Linked DNA regions of Homo sapiens: all the other regions are linked to region 1. The links are contacts of gene promoters, found by promoter capture Hi-C in human tissues and cell types (Jung and others, 2019). All regions are on one chromosome and are shown on one strand. The core of a region is centred on a gene start or on the middle of the fragment in contact, and the rest is flanking DNA. Distances in the headings are between cores, read along the strand shown. Region 1 overlaps PSMD4 (proteasome 26S subunit ubiquitin receptor, non-ATPase 4). Region 2 holds the start of RORC (RAR related orphan receptor C). Region 3 holds the start of MRPS21 (mitochondrial ribosomal protein S21).

What was found. Contacts are between HindIII fragments. The study calls those that stand out against the background at their distance.
Region 2: a contact is called between the fragment with the promoter of RORC here and a fragment that was not itself captured in region 1, in 1 of the 25 tissues and cell types used here (lymphoblastoid cells).
Region 3: a contact is called between the fragment with the promoter of MRPS21 here and a fragment that was not itself captured in region 1, in 1 of the 25 tissues and cell types used here (heart left ventricle).

What each region holds. Positions count from the first base shown.
Region 1 is chr1:151,265,860-151,268,559 of GRCh38, reverse strand. PSMD4 (proteasome 26S subunit ubiquitin receptor, non-ATPase 4) reads right to left here. Exons shown (of 10, transcript NM_002810.4): 7 at 2,448-2,556; 8 at 2,121-2,252; 9 at 1,973-2,040; 10 at 1,081-1,387. The coding sequence ends at 1,217. Among named protein-coding and RNA genes, the nearest start is that of PSMD4, 12 kb to the right of the region's middle. The HindIII fragment of the contact is 5,567 bases long and covers 1-2,700 here.
Region 2 is chr1:151,830,511-151,833,210 of GRCh38, reverse strand. RORC (RAR related orphan receptor C) reads left to right here and starts at 1,409. Exons shown (of 11, transcript NM_005060.4): 1 at 1,409-1,486. The coding sequence starts at 1,447. RefSeq lists an enhancer at 2,101-2,700. The HindIII fragment of the contact is 16,173 bases long and covers 1-2,700 here.
Region 3 is chr1:150,292,555-150,295,254 of GRCh38, reverse strand. MRPS21 (mitochondrial ribosomal protein S21) reads right to left here and starts at 1,394. Exons shown (of 3, transcript NM_031901.6): 1 at 1,357-1,394; 2 at 806-920. The coding sequence starts at 888. LOC105371434 (a long non-coding RNA gene) reads left to right here and starts at 1,435. Exons shown (of 2, transcript XR_922129.4): 1 at 1,435-1,623; 2 at 1,758-1,955. RefSeq lists an enhancer at 1,047-1,106. The HindIII fragment of the contact is 19,456 bases long and covers 1-2,700 here.

The sequences.
Region 1 (2,700 bases), core at 23-2,522:
AAAAATATATATATATATTTTTTAATTTTTTATTTTTTGAGAGTCTCCCTCTGTCGCCCAGGCTGGAATGCAGTGGCATGATCTCAGCTCACTGCAACCTCCGCCTCCTGGGTTCAAGCAATTCTCCTGCCTCAGCCTCCTGAGTAGCTGGAATTACAGGCGTGTGCCACCACACCCGGCTAATTTTTTTTCTATTTTTAGTAGAGACGGGGTTTCACCATATTGGTCAGGCTGGTCTCAAACTCCTGACCTTGTGATCTGCCCACCTCGGCCTCCCAAAGTGCTGGGATTACAGGTGTGAGCCACCGCACCTGGCTGAAAAAAAAAAAAACTTTAAAAAAAATTATAAAGGGAATAGATGTTCCTTGTAAAATAATATTTAAACCGTATAATATAAAGTCTCAAGGTAAGGTTACTTGTAGAGTGGATTTTATGCATGTACACTGAGAGGAAAACGCCAGCAGGGTGTTTAGGACAGCAGAGACTCAGGAGACAGCATAACTGATGCAGGGAGGTGCTGGCAGGAGGGAGGGAGCCAGAACTTCCTGCCTCACGGCCTTGACTCTCTGTAAAGATGTCAGGCTTCTGTTGAGAGTGATCGGGGAGTAGAGGAAGGTATAGTAGTTGCTACAAGGAACTGACTTGCAGGGCTGAGCAGAGTCACTGAAGGCAGCTGACCAATGGGAAACTACTGTTTGGTGGTGATTCAACTCCTGGCGAGACAGGTCTGAGACAAGTTTGGATTTTGATCCTGGTTCTGCCTCTTCATTAGCTAAATATCCTTGGCCAAATAACCTAAACTTGCTGAACCTCAGAAGTCCACATGAAAAAACTGAAAAGGTTGAGTATCATTCCATGCTTGGGGTTCAGCTGTGTGAGTGCAGAGTAAAAGTTATTGGCAAGAAGGTGGTTTAAATAAGGTCTTCGTTCATTAGAAATGGAAACCTGGCTCCTGGGCCTGTAATCCCAGCACGTTAGGAGGCCCAGACAGGTGGAAACAGAGACATAGAGAACTCAACAAGGAAGGTTCTCCTTCAGGCCAGGGACTCCTCCCCTCTCTCACACTCAAAACCATCAATATTTGAAGCAAAAAAGGAAAAAAAGTTGCCAAGCTTTATTTAGGCTGTAATGGTTACAGATAACACACATCTAACCCTATATTCCGTGCTTCCCATGCAGTCCCCTAAGCAGACTCAGCTACCCTTTCCCTCCAGTCTCACTTCTTGTCTTCCTCCTTCTTGTCCTTCTTGCCGTCCTTGGTGGCCTGGGAGGCCAGGGAGCCCATAGCATTTCGAATGGCTTCATTGTTGGGATCCACACCTGGGAGGTTCTCTAGGACACTCTGAAGGAACTCGGGGTCCTGCATCACGTCGTAATCATCCTCCTCCTGCAAACAGGCAGTGTGAGCTCAAGGGAGGGTATGGAGCGGCAGGAAGTAAGCAGGTGTTAAGGACAGGAGCATGCCGCTGCCAGAGGCCCCCTGCCTTCTGACTGTGTGGGGATCTGGGCACCTCTGGTCGACGTAAGGAAAGGACAAGTCAGCAAAATCCTTTATACAGCATGAATGCAGTTATTACTAACCAAATAGAGGGGCCTGCTGAGAACTCTGTTAATTGAGCTCTGAGGAGAAAAACAGATGCCATCACATTGAGGTTTCCTGCTCTCAAGACACCCAGTTCTCCTTTTTCTTTTTCCCAGACCCGCTTTTTTCCCTCCTGGGAAGACATCCTAGAGAACTGCCCAGGCTGCTCCCACCAGCAAGAAAGGAAAATTACAGAACAAGAGGACATTTCTCCAACTCTGACCATTAGCATTGCTACCTTAGCAAGGTTTACATGTAAGAAATGCAAATCCATGTGTTTCCCTCTGCTCCTCAAAGGACTTAGCTATGGTAGAAATACTCCCAGCCCCAGAGGGATGAGGATCTAAATTCAAGGACTTTAAACCTGATGGGGGCAGGGTTGGGTCTCACCTTGGCTGGCTCAGATGTGTCCATAGCTGAGCTGGCATCAATGTCTGCTGATTCCGCCTGGCCAAACTCTGAGGAAGAGAGGTCAGTCTGTTCAGTTACACTTCCTCACCCCAACCTCTGCCTAGGCACCACCCAGGCTCTGGCTCACCTGCTCCCTGCAGGGACATCTGCATGGCATAAGCAATCTGCTCTTCCTCAGTCATACTGCTTAGGTCAGGAAGCCCAGTGCGGCCAAACTCTTGCTGGCTGATGGTCATCTTCAGCAGGGCATCGTCTGAGTCTGGGAAAAGGAAAAGAGGAGCAGGGTAGAATTGGTGCCATATCCACACAGGCCAGCCTCCAAGGCCATTCCTAGCCCAGCCCTCCCACATATTCCTACCCTGTCAGACCTCCACACTCTCCCTGCAGTGCCTACACCCAGCTTTCAATGTTTAGCATCCCGCAGTCCCAGGACTTCGGATTCCACCTCTTTCACCTTCAGTCCCAGTCGTAGCAATCCCGGCCTCAGCAGCAGAAGCTGCAGCTGCCCGCCGGGCCTCCTCCTCCTGCCGCTGCCGCTGCTCTTCCATAGATACACGAAGGGCCTGGTGAAGGGCAGGGCATAATCAGGGCTCCCCTGCCCTCACTCCTACAGGGAGCTGGGAAAGTCAGTTGGGGTGTGGGAAAGGAACATAAAGGGGCAGCTTCTGGTTTATCACACAGAGAAGAAGCTGGAGGGATAAGCAGTG
Region 2 (2,700 bases), core at 160-2,659, 560 kb before region 1:
TGTGCAGAGATGCATACATGGATGCGTGGGCCCACATTTACCAAAAGAACACGGGGGATAATCAGAGCCTCAGAGGCATAGGCACATACCCTTAGACTCAGTGCAGAAGGTCCCCAAAACTTCCCCTCCTCTTTCTCACTACTCATCCACTGTCAATGACCCTAGGAGTTGAAAAGTCCTTCTCCACTTCTACCTTTATCTCTCAATCTGCAGCCATGGGGAGACTCTGGGAGCTACCTAAGAACAGAGGTGCTGATGGTAGCAGAGTGTGAAGCTCCAGGGTTGGGCAGGAGTGGAGGATGGCGAGACGAGACGGCAGAAGAGGGAAGGGACAGCTGCTTGCCCTCTCCATGCCAGGTGCCACGTGCACCAGGTGGGGGGGAGTGGGCGAGTCACGAGGCTGTGGCATGGCTGACTCCTGCTCTGCTGTTTACCAGCTGGGAACGAGAGCAGGAGGAGGTGCCAGGGAGCCTCTTGCTGCAGCCTGGCCCCTGGCCAGTTGCTTGTTGGGTAACCAGGAGAGTCAGGCCCAGCTAATCAAACTCTGGGCCCAGGCCATGCAGGAGAAAAGCAGCACCAGGATCCCCAGAAGCCTCGTCCTCTTGGCCCCCTTCAGAGCCTTCACTGCAGGCCTCAGTGTGGGCCACTAGGTCTGGGAGCCTCTCCTTCTCCCAATGAGTCCAGTGCAGCATCTCTCCTCTCCTCTTCCCCACCATGGCTTCTCTGCCTCCAGGCACTCCTCCAGGCCTGCCCCTTGCCCCAACAGATGAGGAGCACGTAGAAGCATCAGGGGGTCAGGGAGTCCTGGCAAGAGCAGCAAGGGTTAGGGGCAGGGGCCGAGCAGGCAGAGGCCTCAGGGAACTGAACAGTCACTGGGAGGAGTCTGACTGCATCCTAGAGAAGAGACACAGTCCCCCAAACCTGCCCTCTCCATCTCCCCTATGCCTGTCACCTGTCTTAGGTAGAAATCACAGGATTCTAAAGTCACAAAGACTTGGGTCCAAATCATAGCTCACCCATTTATTGTTCTTGTGTGAGTCCTTGGGCAAAATCATTAATATCTCTGAGAATCCCTCCACTCACTGATCAATCTGGAATAATAATGTTTCCCTGTGGTGGGTGCTGTGAATATTTACACAAAGTAAAAGCATGGATTTACATAAAGTGTCCTGCAAAGGGCCCAGCACACAGTAAGTGATTAATAAATGCTAGTTCCCTTCCTTTCTCCTGTCCTGTTTCTCCTCAAGGCTCCATGCACTGGTCCACTGGTCTCTCCTCATGTCCCCTCCTGGTGCCAGGACACTCTGCCAGCCACTCCTTTTCCCTGCCTGCTGGAGGGCCAGGTGCTCCCGCCTTCCACCCTCCGCCCTCCTCCCTCCCCTGGGCCCTGCTCCCTGCCCTCCTGGGCAGCCAGGGCAGCCAGGACGGCACCAAGGGAGCTGCCCCATGGACAGGGCCCCACAGAGACAGCACCGAGCCTCACGGGGTAAGAGGCCCATGGCCCTGCCTGCAGGTGGAAGAGACTGCTGGAGGTTCAGAGGAGGGCAGAAATGGCAAGAGACTGGGCAAGAAGTGAGGAGGGGAGGGAGGGACAAGAGTGCAGAGGAGAAAGCCCTGGGTTGGCAGGGAGTGAAACTGGAGGAGAAACAGGAGGAGGGGCTGGGGAGATGACAGAGGAGAAGAAATCGCAAAAGGAGAGAAACAGGAAAGAAAGGGAGAAGCGGGAGAAGGAAGAAACAGGTTGGAGGGTAGATGGGGAGGGAAGAGCCAAGTCAGGGGAGCCAGATCTAGACCCAGCGAGGGGTCAGAATGTGGACAGGCCCTCCCAGGTGTGGGCTTACCCCCCAGGAGGCACAGGGACACTGCTTCCTTGATCTGGCCAGGACCCCAGACAGCAGTGGCCGGGAGGCTGGCTGCTCCACCTTCTGTTCATTCACCAGTGGAGAAACCTGTCCTTTAAGGAGTGACAGACTTGGGGAGTGTGGCAGGGGGAACCACACCCTGTCAGCTGCCCATGACCACGTAGCCTGGTCCTTTCCTCGCCACTCACCCAGGGATGTGGGATTTCATCTCTGCAGAGAATGTGGGGCACTGGGCCATCAGCAGGGAAGGACAGAATGTCAGGCCGTCCTTGGCCCCACCCATGGTCCAAGTCAGGAACCCCCTCAGAGCAGGATCGCAGGGCCACAGGCTTGGTCAGCTGTGAGCATGGAGGAGGAAAGTTTGAGGGCCAGAGCCACCAAGCTCCAGGGCCACCTGGTGGAGGAAGAACTGGCTGCCTGGGTGAGCAAGGGGAGCACCCCCACCACAGGACTGCTCTGAGGTGCAAGGCTAGAGGCCAGGAGCCGGTGCCACGTCAGGGAGGAAGCTGGGTGGGGCCAGGCAGGAGCAAGGGGAGGTGGGCGGGGCTGGGTGGGGCCTTGCCACCTCGGGGCAGTCTTTTCTCCTCCCTCACCCCAGCAGAGCCCAGGCCATCAGGCCACTCGCCTCCACACAGCCTAGTGACCACGGCCTGCCAGTGGGGAGCATCTCCCGGGCAGAAGGGCACTGTGTGTGTGTGTGTGTGTGTGTGTGTGTGTGTGTGTGTGTATGTCAGGTGTCAAGACTGAACAGCAGAAGGAAAAAAATAACAGAATAGAGTCAGAGGTTAGGGAAGCTATAGGGGGTATAGGGCATGGTTGAAGGGCTTTCTGAGACAAA
Region 3 (2,700 bases), core at 145-2,644, 970 kb after region 1:
GGAGGCAGAGGCAGGCAGATCACTTGAGGTCAGGAGATCAAGACCATCCTGGCCAACACGGTGAAACCCCATCTCTACTATAAATACAAAAATTAACCGGGCGTGGTGGCGGGAGCCTGTAGTACTGGCTGCTCAGGAGGCTGAGGCAGGAGAATGGCGTGAACCCAGGAAGCGGAGCTTGCAGTGAGCCGAGATCGTGCCGCTGCACTCCAGCCTGGGTGACAGAGCGAGACTCTGCCTCAAAAAAAAAAAAAAAAATTAAAATTAAAATTAAAAGCGGGGAGGTGCGGGGGGTGATTACTTGTTGAATACAATTCATACAGTTAGGTTTGAGGAAGAACTTTTTTTCTTTTTTTTTGAGATAGAGTCTCACTCTTGCCCAGGCTGGAGTGCAAGTGGCTCGATCTTGGCTCACTACAACCTCTGCCTCCCGGGTTCAAGCGATTCTCCTGCCTCAGCTCTCGAGTAGCTGAGATTACAGGCGTTTGCCACCACGCCCGGCTAATTTTTGTATTTTTAGTAGAGACACGGTTTCACCATGTTGGCCAGGCTGGTCTGAAACTCCTGACCGCATGTGATCCACCCGCCTCGGCCTCCCAAAGTGCTGGGATTACAGGCGTGAGCCACCGCGCCCGGCCCAGAACTTCATTTTTAAGATAATAAACTGAGGGGCTGAGACGTTTTAAGAGACTGTGAACACCTGGGCTGGCACTGTTTTGAGAACAATCAACGAAAGGGGAAGGGAGAGAATAACCACCGCACTTCCCAGAGAGTCTAGGCATGATTCTGGTCCCTTAACAGTTACCTGTTTAGGGTCCTGTATGCGCTTTCCACGTTCCCTTCCTGTACCATCACAGTCCTGGCGATGAACTTCAGATGTTTTGCCATGACCTTGGATTTAAACCTTCACTCTGTAGAGCCTAAAGGATGATGGAGAAAGGGCGAGGAAAGCAGAAAGAGAAACGCAACATAATACAAACTACACCGCGCGGCTTATTTAGGATTTGGAAATTCAACATGCTCAGGGACGCGCGAGATGGAGCACATGGAAGTCATCCTAGAAAGTAGACGTGAATCGTTGTCTCTTATTCTCACTGCCAGTCCAAATCCTCGCATAGAGAAGAAAAGAGATGGCAGCAGGGCGTTACCACAAAGACGCGTCGCCGGGCATGAGAAGGACACGAGCGACAAGGATGCGCCACAGGGTCCCAACCACCACACATAGTTCCAAAAGGGGTTGAGTTGGGAGTTGGGGAAGGACTCTTTGTTGGTCTTTGGAAAAGGGGGCGAAAGCCCGCAAACCTGCCCTCTCGCCAAGCCAGCCTTCCTTTCCCCAAACCCTGCACAACTCCTCACCTCGCGCGCTCAGTACCTAGCCCACCGGAAGGGTTCTCACTACCGGAAGCGGAAATTACGGAATCGCCAGCGCCGCGCAAAGAAACAGGCCGAGGGAGACAACGTGCGTGGAAACCATAGCAACGTCCTTTCTGGCCTCTGTTGACTGCCTCTCTTCCCCGGGCCTGGACTCTACACCTGACAAAGCAAAATACTCATTGACTTAAATTCCCCCGAAACACGTTTCTCGCCCTCTCATGGAGTCGAAGTCCTTCGGCCTCTGAGAAGGTCAGCCCAATTTCATACCCCTTAATCCTGTGAAATCCTTGATAAATATTTGAGCCATTTCTCTTTCTCGATGGAAAACAAGAGAAGTAGGCGCTTCCTGAGGATGCTTCCTGTTTTCTCTTTGGAAAGGACAGACTCTTTGAGATCTGCTCTCCGGACGAAAAATAGATTGATTCATACACGTCATCTGCCTAAGTGCTAAGGAAAAGAAATAAACATACTGTGAGTTTCCTATATCATCTTCCCACTAATTTAACTACATAAAGTGAAATCAATAAAGATATATGGGAAACACCTGCAGGGTTTAGAATAAAAAATTATGTCAGCTTCTATGCCTTTTCGTGCTAATGAGACCTACTGAAAAACCTCCTTTTAAATTTCTTCTTCGCTGTGGAGACACCCGTCCTCCTATTTGTATGCTACCTGTACATATCCATTTATGGTTATTCACGTAAGTTAACATCTAATGGCTGTAGGAAAACGTACCTCCCTTAGAGAGAGAGTGCGCGCGCACGCTCACGCACACACACACACACACAGACACAGACACAGACGTGTGCATCATCAGTTGATGCTAATAACTTACACTAACACTTAAGCCCACCTCAGAGTAAGCCAGGTCCAAAGTAACGAAATAGAACTAGATTGGGACATTATTATGCTTGTCAACAAACTTTCACTGAATGACTACTCTGTGTCAGATACTGTTGATACCACTCTAGTGCCTCCTGGACCACTAGGACCACATAAAAGATACTAAAACAAAGTAGTATATAATAAATGCAAAATAAATTATATGGGCTGGACGCGGTGGCTCACACCTGTAATCCCAGCACTTTGGGAGGCCAAGGCAGGCGGATCACTTGAGCCCAGAAGTTCGAGACCAGCCTGGGCAACAAAGCAAAACTCCGTCTTTACAAAAAATATAGAAATTAGCCGGGTGTAGTGGCATGGCCTGTTGTCCTAGCTACTTGGGAGGCTGAGGGGGAGGATCACCTGAGCCTGGAAGGTCAAGGCTGCAGCGAGCTTTGATCACACCACTGCACCCTGGCCTGGGCAATAGAGTGAGACCCTGTC